Linked DNA regions of Homo sapiens: all the other regions are linked to region 2. Evidence: promoter capture Hi-C in 16 types of primary human blood cells and fetal thymus (Javierre and others, 2016). All regions are on one chromosome and are shown on one strand. Each heading gives the region's core, a stretch centred on a gene start or on the middle of the fragment in contact. The rest is flanking DNA. Distances are from core to core; before and after follow the strand shown.

Region 1 (3,173 bases), core at 162-2,661, 240 kb after region 2:
TTTCAGAGTTTATGATATGGTTTTGATCTGTGTCTCCACCAAATGTCACGTAGAATTGTAATCCCCAGCGTTGGAGGTGCAGCCTGGGGGGAGGTGATTGGATCATGGAGGCAGTTTCTCATGAATGGTTTAGCACTATCTCCTTGGTGCTATTCTCACGATAGTGAGTTCTCATGAAATCTGATCATTTAAAAGTGAGTAGAACCTCCCCCATCTCTCTCTCTTGCTTCTGCTCCTGCCATGTGAGACGCCTCACTCCCTCTTTGTCTTCTGCCATGACTGGAAGATTCCTGAGGCCTCCCTAGAAGCAGAAGCCACTGTGCTTCCTGTACAGCCTTCAGAACTGTAAGCCAATTAATCTCTTTTCTTTATAAATTACCCAGTCTCAGGTATTTCTTTAGCTATTATGAATAATGCTGCTGTGAATATTCCTGTAAAAGGCTTTTTGAGTACATATTCTTTCACTCCTGTTAAATAAATATCTACTAGTGGAATTGCTGGGTCATAGGGTACATGCAAATGTACATGTAAGAAAATATGCTAGATTTTCTCAGAAGATTTTGTCTTTTATTTTACATTTGAGTTTTTGCTCCATGTCATTATTATTAGTCAAGGATTTTACTGAAGGTAGAAAAACAAAGACACATTAACAGTATAACATTTATTAACAGTATGACAAGAAAATTTCATCCACAATTTTGCATGTTTCTATAAAATAGATAAATAGGCTATACACTCACTTTCTTTTCTTCTGCATCTTCCACATTCCTTGTCCATTATATAATTGGGAATGCTTTACATATTTGCTCAAAAGTCTTGTTTTTGGTTCATATGAAGATATCTGGTGTTAATTATATATGCCAGTTAAAAATAGATCTAAAGTCAAAACAAAACCAGTGAAAATAATTCATATTCAATTGTTGATTAAGTATGGTCTTGCTTTGTTTCACTTCCCACGGGTGAAATCTAGGATCTCTTATCACCCCACAGCCTCATATCTCCCAATCAGCTGGTGTTGGTTAATGCCATCTCCTTCAGAGAGAACCAGAAAAATGCACTTCAGAAAGACCAAACAAAAGCAATGGCTTTCACGTTGGATGAGGTGGTCTCATGTAGTCTCATGGCTTAATTTGTTTATCTCTTAAAAGTAATCCTCAAAATTTTTGTCCTTAAGAACTGCTAAATTATTTCTGGCCTTAGGGAAGCAAATTAATTTCCAAGTGGCTATCCTAGCTACATTTGCAATAAAAAGCAGATTTTGATTTATAAAATATTTATTTTTTTGTTGAACCTTTCTTTAAAATTTTCCACTGTTTTTTACCCTGTATAAAAATAGAAATTCTATTTTAGCAATGCAGTTGTACAATTGAAAAATGCTATGAAATATAGACTTTGAAAGTATTTAAAATAAGTCTTGGTTAAGACCACTTAAACTATTATCAAGCCACTTACCTCTTGCTAACTGGAAATAAGGTCAGGCAATAGAAAATAACAGCAAGAGACAACTGAGGAACTAACAGGCAAATCACTTCTTTTAAAATTATACTTTAAGTTCTGGGATACATGTGCAGAATGTGCAGGTTTGCTACCTAGGTATACATGTGCCATGGTGGTTTGCTGCACCAGGCAGGTCACTTCTAAAATGAGTTTGATCTCCCTACAAAGCCAAGCTGAACTGGTGAACAAAATGCACAGTCAAGGTGGAAGGTTCTAGGCTTACTGCCCTTCTACTTAGCACCCTCAGCCTTCCCAACTTTTCTAAGTGTCAAAAATGTCCCAAATATCAGGCCACAACCAAAATAAGACATGTTATTTAACAAGAAAGAATTGATCTGTATATAATAACTAAGCCACTGTGCTATCAAATGCATTTATTCCAGCCCACCAAGGAATGCTTGAAATTACAAGTAAATTTAAAATTTGTTCTTGTCAACTGTAAGAATAGACTTTCTATTTCTGAATAAATACTTTTCATATAAAATAAGTAGTAAATTAAGGAGAAACATAAACCTCTAGCCAAACACATTAGTCATATCTGGAAGTATGTAGTAATGCCCTTACAAAGAATATTACCATCACATTCACATTTTGAGGTTATAAAATGAACAATAAATTATATAGATGTTATGGCTGTGATTTTTGAAAATACAGATTCTAGGGCCACCTTCCTGGGGACTCTGATTTGCATGATGAACTTGAGTATACATATTTTCAAAGAGCCCCTTAGGTCCTTCCAAGGATCAGCCCGGTTGGGGAATCACAGTATGTAGAAAATGGGCTATTTTAGCAGGATTCATAAAGAGATGCTCAAAGGGGTAAGCATACCCCACAGCAAATAGATTTGCTAGAGAAAGCAGCTAACAAAACAGAATATTTTATTTCACAGAAAAATCTCATCCATTTGGCTTATATACACAATGCAGGTGTATATACCTGTTAACTAGCATTTCAAAGATAAAAACATAAAGTATCATTATGGTCATAACAAAATTTCCTTAAAGTAGTCCAATTATGAGAGCTCACCTAGTGCTTTGTCACATTCTTAGCTATTTTGTAACTCCAGAAATTATCAGAATCAGCTCAATGCTGCTGACTAGTTAAGATTAGTCAGATTTTACTCGAGCTGGAGAGACTTCTAAATTATGCTCTTGAAAGGACCTATTTGTCCTTTAAAAATGGTTATCCTGGTAAGATCTTATGGTGTGGGTATTTCCCAGCCCTTTGAAGTGAATTAACTGCATCTGGAAGTCAAAAAAGTACACCTGAATGAAATTAATATATTGGGGAACTTGAATACTTTGGACTTTAGTAGCAGCTTTGTTTAGGTTCCTCCCCTCTTTATGTCATCAAAATAACGTTCAATCGTAGGTATTTCTAAAGACGGATGGATGGTTTTCTTTTGCCACCAACTGTAGGCAATTTTGGAGGATGAAAATAAACATAAATTTTCTATGTCCTAAATAGCAAAAGAAAGAGATTGGCTTTATTATTTCACTGTTTTTACTTTTGTAGTCTCAGAGCAGACCTGTGGAGATGATACATGCTCCATTTAGCTTTAAAAGGAGGCTCCATTAAGGACCCTCCTTTACAAGTGCTTGAGATGCCCAACGTGGAGGATCACCTGAGTGTGGTCATTGTCCTACCCAGCAAAGACATCCACTTGGAACAGATAA
Region 2 (3,321 bases), core at 478-2,977:
CCACCTCTGGGGCAGTTTTGATCCTAGAAAGAAGAGATGGATAAAACAGAACAGGGAGGAGTCCTGTGATAAGAGGTTGGGAAGGCGTTGAAAATTAGGTTTAGAGAGAATAAGGATGAGAATCTGTCACCAGATGGAGGTGCTTGAGTGTTAAACAAGAGCAGTTCCTGGTGTGAGTGGGCCACTATAAAAGAGGGAAGGTGAAGGTCCGAGAAGTGAGAGGCGCTGGCAACAGGAATGGTGAAGTGGTACAGGGTGGCGGTAGCAGCTGGGGTGGACAGGAAGACCATATGCAGAGTCACGGAGGGACCTGTGGTTGGGGACAGAGCAGCACAGCGTGATGGTCTAAGTTTCCAAAGGGGAGCATTGAAGGTGACTGAAGGAAGAAAGACTTGGAAGAAGAGGGAGTGCGAGGGAGAATAGGAATGGTGACTTTGCTTTCCCAAGATATGAGTGGCCGTTCCCAGAAAAGACTATGGGATGTAGTAGTCCTCAGGACATGCCAGGTTTCCCGGTGAAAGCAGGTGGTAGAGCAAAAGCTTTAGCAAAAAGCAGAAGGCCTGTGGAAATGGCTGGGCAATAGAACAGGAAGTCTAGGGGCCACAGAGAAAGAAATAAGAAGATATAAATGGATAGGGATATTAAAACATAAAGCATTATGGCCGACTCAGAGATTTTATGCCATTTTAAAAAACTAACATTTCCATTTCACTGGCATCCAGGGTTCACTAAGTGTTAATTCTTTCTAAACCTTACTCAATTTGCAAGATTCTCAGTGCCTATTAAAAAGCAAATCAACTAAATGTGGCTTTGAGTTTGCTTAAAGAGCAGCAATCAAAATATTTTGAAAAAAGTAAATTGTGAGTATGGAGATTGGAACACACATGACCCATATGCCCTTCGAGCCTGCGTATCTAGGGAGGTGTTCCTCTAGGCAGAAGGAAGAGCTAAGACACCCTTCTAGGAGCTGCTGCCCAGCAACGATGGCAAATCTCCACGCCCTTTACTGAAGATTAAAGCTAAGACTAATCCAAGCACAGTTTCTTTTAATGAACTGGTAGGGCCAGTAGAAATGCTCCAGGGTTGGCAGGAAAAACTGGAATCTGGGGGTGTAATTTCCTATTGAGTTTTTTTGGTAGTGTTGTTTTCCTGAAATCAGTGAGGATATTGAGTGCTTATGAATTATTGGCATTAGACACAGTACCTGGTACATAATAGACTTGATAAATGTTTATTGAATGAATTAAAATGAGATATTTTACAATTAATGGATGGAATACTTGAGAATAATAGGTGTGTGTGTGTATGTGTGTGTGCGTGTGTGTGTGTGCGCATGCTCGCTTGTGTGTGGCTGCCTACCCAAACTTTTCTTGTTCTTTTTTCTTGTTCCTTTGTAGCAAGATAGTTTTCTTTCATTTTCTTCCTGGCATTTGGCACTCCTAAATAATGCAAATGCAAAAATAACTCTGTTACAGAGAATGACTTGTCAGGACACAGCTCTGTCCATCTGTGGTAAGTAAAGTATGCATTTAATGTATGTGTTCATCAGGCTATACACCTTTGGTTCCCAGCGTTGGCTGTACATTGTAATCACCTGCGGTGATAAAAATTCTGATGCCTGGTTTCCACTCGAGAGATGCTGACTCAGTTGGTCTGGGGTGGGGCTTGGGCATAGATTTTTTTTAAAGTTCCAAGGAGATTTTAAGGTGCACGCAAGGTGGAAAACCACTGCTGAAGCAGATGTGGAGAACTATAAATTAAGGATCCCAGCTACTTAATTGACTTATGCTTCCTAGTTCGTTGCCCAGCCACCACCGTCTCTCCAAAAACCCGAGGTAAGTTCTTATTTTGGCTCCAATTTAAGACCTCTGTATTTTGAGAACAATGATGTTTGTTGTTTGAAAGAATTACTTTTATTTTGCATAGACTTTCTGGAGGTAGTTTTATTTAATTCAGTTCCAACATGGCCATGACAATGTATCTTCTTTGACAGTAAATTAATCCATTTTATTTCTGAGTTAACCTGTAAAGGATCTCTGCAAGGAAACCTGAGGTTGAAATGAAAGCTTTGATATCAGATGTGGGATGCCTTAGCGGGGATGAGCCCTTGAGGGCAAAAGGCCCCAAAGTATGTGGGCTTTAAAAAACTTTATTTTTCATTAATCTTATTCTTGTTTTAGGATTCCTCCTAAAGCCTTTACTTACTAGTTTTAAAGTAGTTGGTAATGAAGCAAACATAAAAACAGTTCTACCTATTTATTTTTGGCAAATATTAATTGCTCTTTAAAAACTATTTTTGTGAAATGACAAAAGTAATGCAAGCTCATGTACAAGCCTAAAACAATACAGAAAAGTATAAAAAAGAAAACCCTTTCATCTCCACCTAATAATTCATGACCAGAGATATGTGGTTTCTGCTTCAGAAAAATTCAGCCCAGAGTCAAGTTTGTATGCAGTTAGGGAAAGGGGTTTAAGAGATTTAATCAATCCTGTCACTCTCTGGGCTGAATTTTGAATCAATTGAGAAATAGTATCAGATAAGGATTCAAGTCTCGGCTTAATTATTGCTAAGGTTGGATCTGAGAGCACTGTTTGAACTTGAGGCCCGTGGAGATTCTTGTGCCTACCCCCCTGCCTTATCATGGGCCCCACATCTGGACAAACTGGTGTCGCCTGGACAAGGGCTGGGTCTACCTGGGGAAGCTTCCATGAAGAGGAGGCTGTGGAGAGGCAGAGACAGGCAGGGTCAGACAGAGAGCAAGAGAATAAAGCCATTAAAACATTAACCCTGCTCCGCGGGGAAATAAGAACTGAGCACCACCGGATGACGGAAGACTCCAGTAGATTGATGGATGTCTCCCAGCAAGAGAAGGCCAAGAGAGGACGTGAGAAGCAGGCAGCAGCGACCTTTCACCAAAAGGGTGGAAATCCCTGTATTCCGGATCGATGCAAGAAGAGGAATAGAAGCAGAAAGGATTCCCCTGACACAGAGTAATTCAAATGTTCAGTTTTGATTGTTGTTCTTGCTATTCTAGGTCTCGCTAAAATCATCATGGATTCACTTGGCGCCGTCAGCACTCGACTTGGGTTTGATCTTTTCAAAGAGCTGAAGAAAACAAATGATGGCAACATCTTCTTTTCCCCTGTGGGCATCTTGACTGCAATTGGCATGGTCCTCCTGGGGACCCGAGGAGCCACCGCTTCCCAGTTGGAGGAGGTTGGGCGCAGTCAGGGGGCTTCCTTGTTTCCTATGCACAAATTCATTTGGCGGGGGGGTTGTCAGCCCTCTTGCATTATCTTAAAAATACGCTCTTCTTGACC
Region 3 (3,177 bases), core at 471-2,970, 220 kb after region 2:
TCTAAGATGACTGCAAAGGCATTGAAGGGCTCTAAGGAGAGGAGTGAACCTCTCTGCTTTGAATTTCTGAAGGGTTGTGTTTGCTGATTTGTGGGCATGGGGCTAGAGTGTTACGAGACTTGACAGGGAGAAATGGACAGTGGTCCAGGTGAGAAGCGATGGTGGCCTAACCTAGAAGATGGGTCTTGGGAATGCGCATAGTGAATGAAGGTGACAGATTTGGGAGGCAGCCTGACTGGTCAGGACTCTGTGAACGACTGGATGAATGTGGCAGTAAAAGGGGAGGACTTCTCAAGATTCAACTTCACAATCTTTAAACAACTGTAACATCACCAGCCAGAGCAGAGGGGAGGGGAAGACAGAAGAAGGGGAGAAGCTGGATGGCAGGGGCATCCCTGTAAGGCCACTGGAGCTGTTATTGTAACGGTTCTTTACTTTTGAACTAAGCACTCCTTTTGAAAATCAGATTTAGGGGTATCCAAAAATGCACACGAAAGAATTTAGGTATATAATTTTAAGAAGTTCAAAGAGCTCCTGAATCCCATTCATAGATTCCCTAGGTTACAAATCCCTGTCACTTATACCTAAATTAGGGCATACCGGATGGGAACCATCCATCGTAGCACAAAGAAAGTGAAGTGTAAGAGCCATGGACCACTAGATAGATGCACTTTCTATGGGACTAGGGCTCTAGGATGATCTGTGCCTTTAAACATCCTGCACAATAGGCAGGGATGCACCACCTCACTCGTAACTATTAATTAGAGTCTTTATAGACAATAGACTTTATAGGCAAGAGAAACCGGTAAATGTTTCATTAAAGATAATACCATAGATGTCATTGACCACACCCAGCCACCTCTTTGCAAATAACCTCTGGTTCTGTGACTAGACATTTAGTGAATATTAACCTTTTAAAAAGTATCTGTTCCTTGGGTCTATCAGAGAACAGTGTCTCTAGAGGCATCAGGGTCTTTGAGAAGTTGATAGCATTTATTCTTTCATTATGAATTCCTTTTTTTTCCCTCTTTGTCCTTGAATCCAAATCCTCCTTAAGACTGTAGATGAGAGAAGTCAGGTTCTTCAAACTGCTGGACTGATTCAAGGTGTGTTTCTTTGAGCCTAGAGACGATTTTAATAGTTGTTTTATAGTTCATCTCTCTCCAGAGCAAGATGAATACTGTCCCCTTTTCTTACTCAAGTGTTTCCACACAAGTCCTTAGCTCCTCAACGAGTGATCCCATGCCTCCTGTCTCTGTTTTAAATGGCTCCTTTGCTAGAAGTGGGTACTGGTATTTGGAGTGTTTCAGTGAGGTGAGTTGGCTCTCTGAAAGAGCTAGGTCTTCTTGAGAATATAGACCATGCATCCTGGATGTCTCTCACTAACGTCGTAAATGATTAGTTTGTTTCCTTTTTTTTCCCTTCCCCTTTTGAAAATTTCAGAAACAAGCGAACCATTAGGCATTTTTCTACTGGCTTCTGTGCCATTTCTTTTCACACTCCTTAGGGTAAAGCCAAACAGTGCTTAATTGTTTGAGAGGGAAGGCATTTGTCATTTCTGTTTTCTGAAAACCATAACTTAAGCTTTTACTCTTGTGTGTACAATAATTTTGTAATATTTACTATCAAGTTACATAAAGTTTTATAAAGGAAACTATTGGGTTAGTTTCCTTTGTAACTATACTTTGTGCCTATTTTTACATTATTTATACAAATCAGGCTCATTTTATGAAAATACAAATATCTAAATCTTGCCTTTTCTCTTTACTTTTTATTTCCATGAATCTTTTTCTTCCATTAATTAACCTCTTCTTCCTCTGTAGATGTCCATAGTTTGGATTCCCTTTTAAAAAGTAGAAGCTTTTCTTTCTGTATATGTTTATACATGCGCAATTTGATTAAAAGGAGTTAATATGAGTGCCTGGCTTTGATTTTAATTACACCCAATTAGTGTTAGCTAATAATTTGTTGGGGATATTCTTTATGAGAAAGTCAAAAATATGTATCTTTAATTTTAGAGAAAAATATGTTCAGGATATAGTTGTTTAATTTACAGGGGTCAAATGAAAGACAAAACTTCTTAAGGAATACAGATGAAATGAAACAACTCAATCAAGATGCCTAATATCAACATACAGATAGGATCTTCTGTTGGTCAATTGGACACAAACACACAAAATTATCCCTTATAGAAGTTAACTGCTATGCACTGAACAATTTGAGAAGACTAATCTTTTTTTTTCTTTTTTTCTTTTTTTGGTTTTTTATTAAGACAGAGTCTTGCTCTGTCATCCAGGCTGGAGTGCAGTGGCACAAGCTCGGCTCACTGCAACCTCTGCCTCTCTGGTTCAAGTGATTCTCCTACCTCAGCTGGGATTACAGGCATGTGCCACCACACCTGGCTAATTTTTATATTTTTATTAGAGATGGGGTTTCACCATGCTGGCCAGGCTAGTCTTGAACTCCTGACCTCAGTTGATCCATCCACTCCCAAAATGCTGGGATTACAGATGTGAGCCACCACACCAGGCCATCCTTTCTATCCATGCACTATGTTAAAGGACTTACCTAGTGCTTAATTCTTCTTTTGAAAAATGAAGTTGTTCATGGTGTCTCATGCTTATAATCCCAGCACTTTGGGAGGCCAAGCAGGAGGATTGCTTGAGGCCAGGAGTTGGAGACTAGCCTGGGCAACATAGAGAGACCTCATCTTGACAAAAAAAAAAAAAACATTTTGAAAAGTGCTCTGAGTATGGTGGCATATGTCTGTAGTCCCAGCTACACAGGAGGCTGAGGAGGGAGGATTGCTTTCAGGAGTTCAAGGCTGCAGTGAGCTATGATTATGCCACTGTACTCCAGCCTGGGTGACAGAGCAAGATACCATCTTTAAATAAATAAATAATAATAATAAGCGAAAAAACATGAGGTAATTGGGCCATATCAGTGTTTTGTAATGTTGGGATGGAACCTATCTGTAGGTTGTAAAAACAATTTAGAGAATTGCCACCAGTGTTTTAAAAATATAAAATAATACAGTAGAAAAGGAAATATCAGAATGCATTAGTAGTAGTAGTTAGCAGAAGTTTTTTTGTAAAACACTTGAATATGTATTCTGGATCACTGTTGGAATTTCTTAGTTGGAATCCCAAATCCCTGAAGAAATGCTTTCTAAGGCCT

What was found. The method cuts DNA at HindIII sites, captures the fragments that hold promoters and counts their contacts. A CHiCAGO score of 5 or more calls a contact.
Region 1: a contact is called between a fragment that was not itself captured here and the fragment with the promoter of SERPINB13 in region 2, in 7 of 17 cell types (megakaryocytes, M2 macrophages, M1 macrophages and 4 more). The highest score is 8.5, in megakaryocytes.
Region 3: a contact is called between a fragment that was not itself captured here and the fragment with the promoter of SERPINB13 in region 2, in 2 of 17 cell types (megakaryocytes and endothelial precursors). The highest score is 7.1, in megakaryocytes.

The regions. Positions count from the first base shown.
Region 1 is chr18:63,828,053-63,831,225 of GRCh38, forward strand. No RefSeq gene overlaps it. Among named protein-coding and RNA genes, the nearest start is that of SERPINB7, 54 kb to the left of the region's middle. The HindIII fragment of the contact is 3,657 bases long and covers 1-3,173 here.
Region 2 is chr18:63,585,616-63,588,936 of GRCh38, forward strand. SERPINB13 (serpin family B member 13) reads left to right here and starts at 1,728. Exons shown (of 8, transcript NM_012397.4): 1 at 1,728-1,835; 2 at 3,036-3,217. The coding sequence starts at 3,053. RefSeq lists an enhancer at 3,014-3,321. The HindIII fragment of the contact is 1,527 bases long and covers 538-2,064 here.
Region 3 is chr18:63,809,579-63,812,755 of GRCh38, forward strand. No RefSeq gene overlaps it. Among named protein-coding and RNA genes, the nearest start is that of SERPINB7, 36 kb to the left of the region's middle. The HindIII fragment of the contact is 276 bases long and covers 1,583-1,858 here.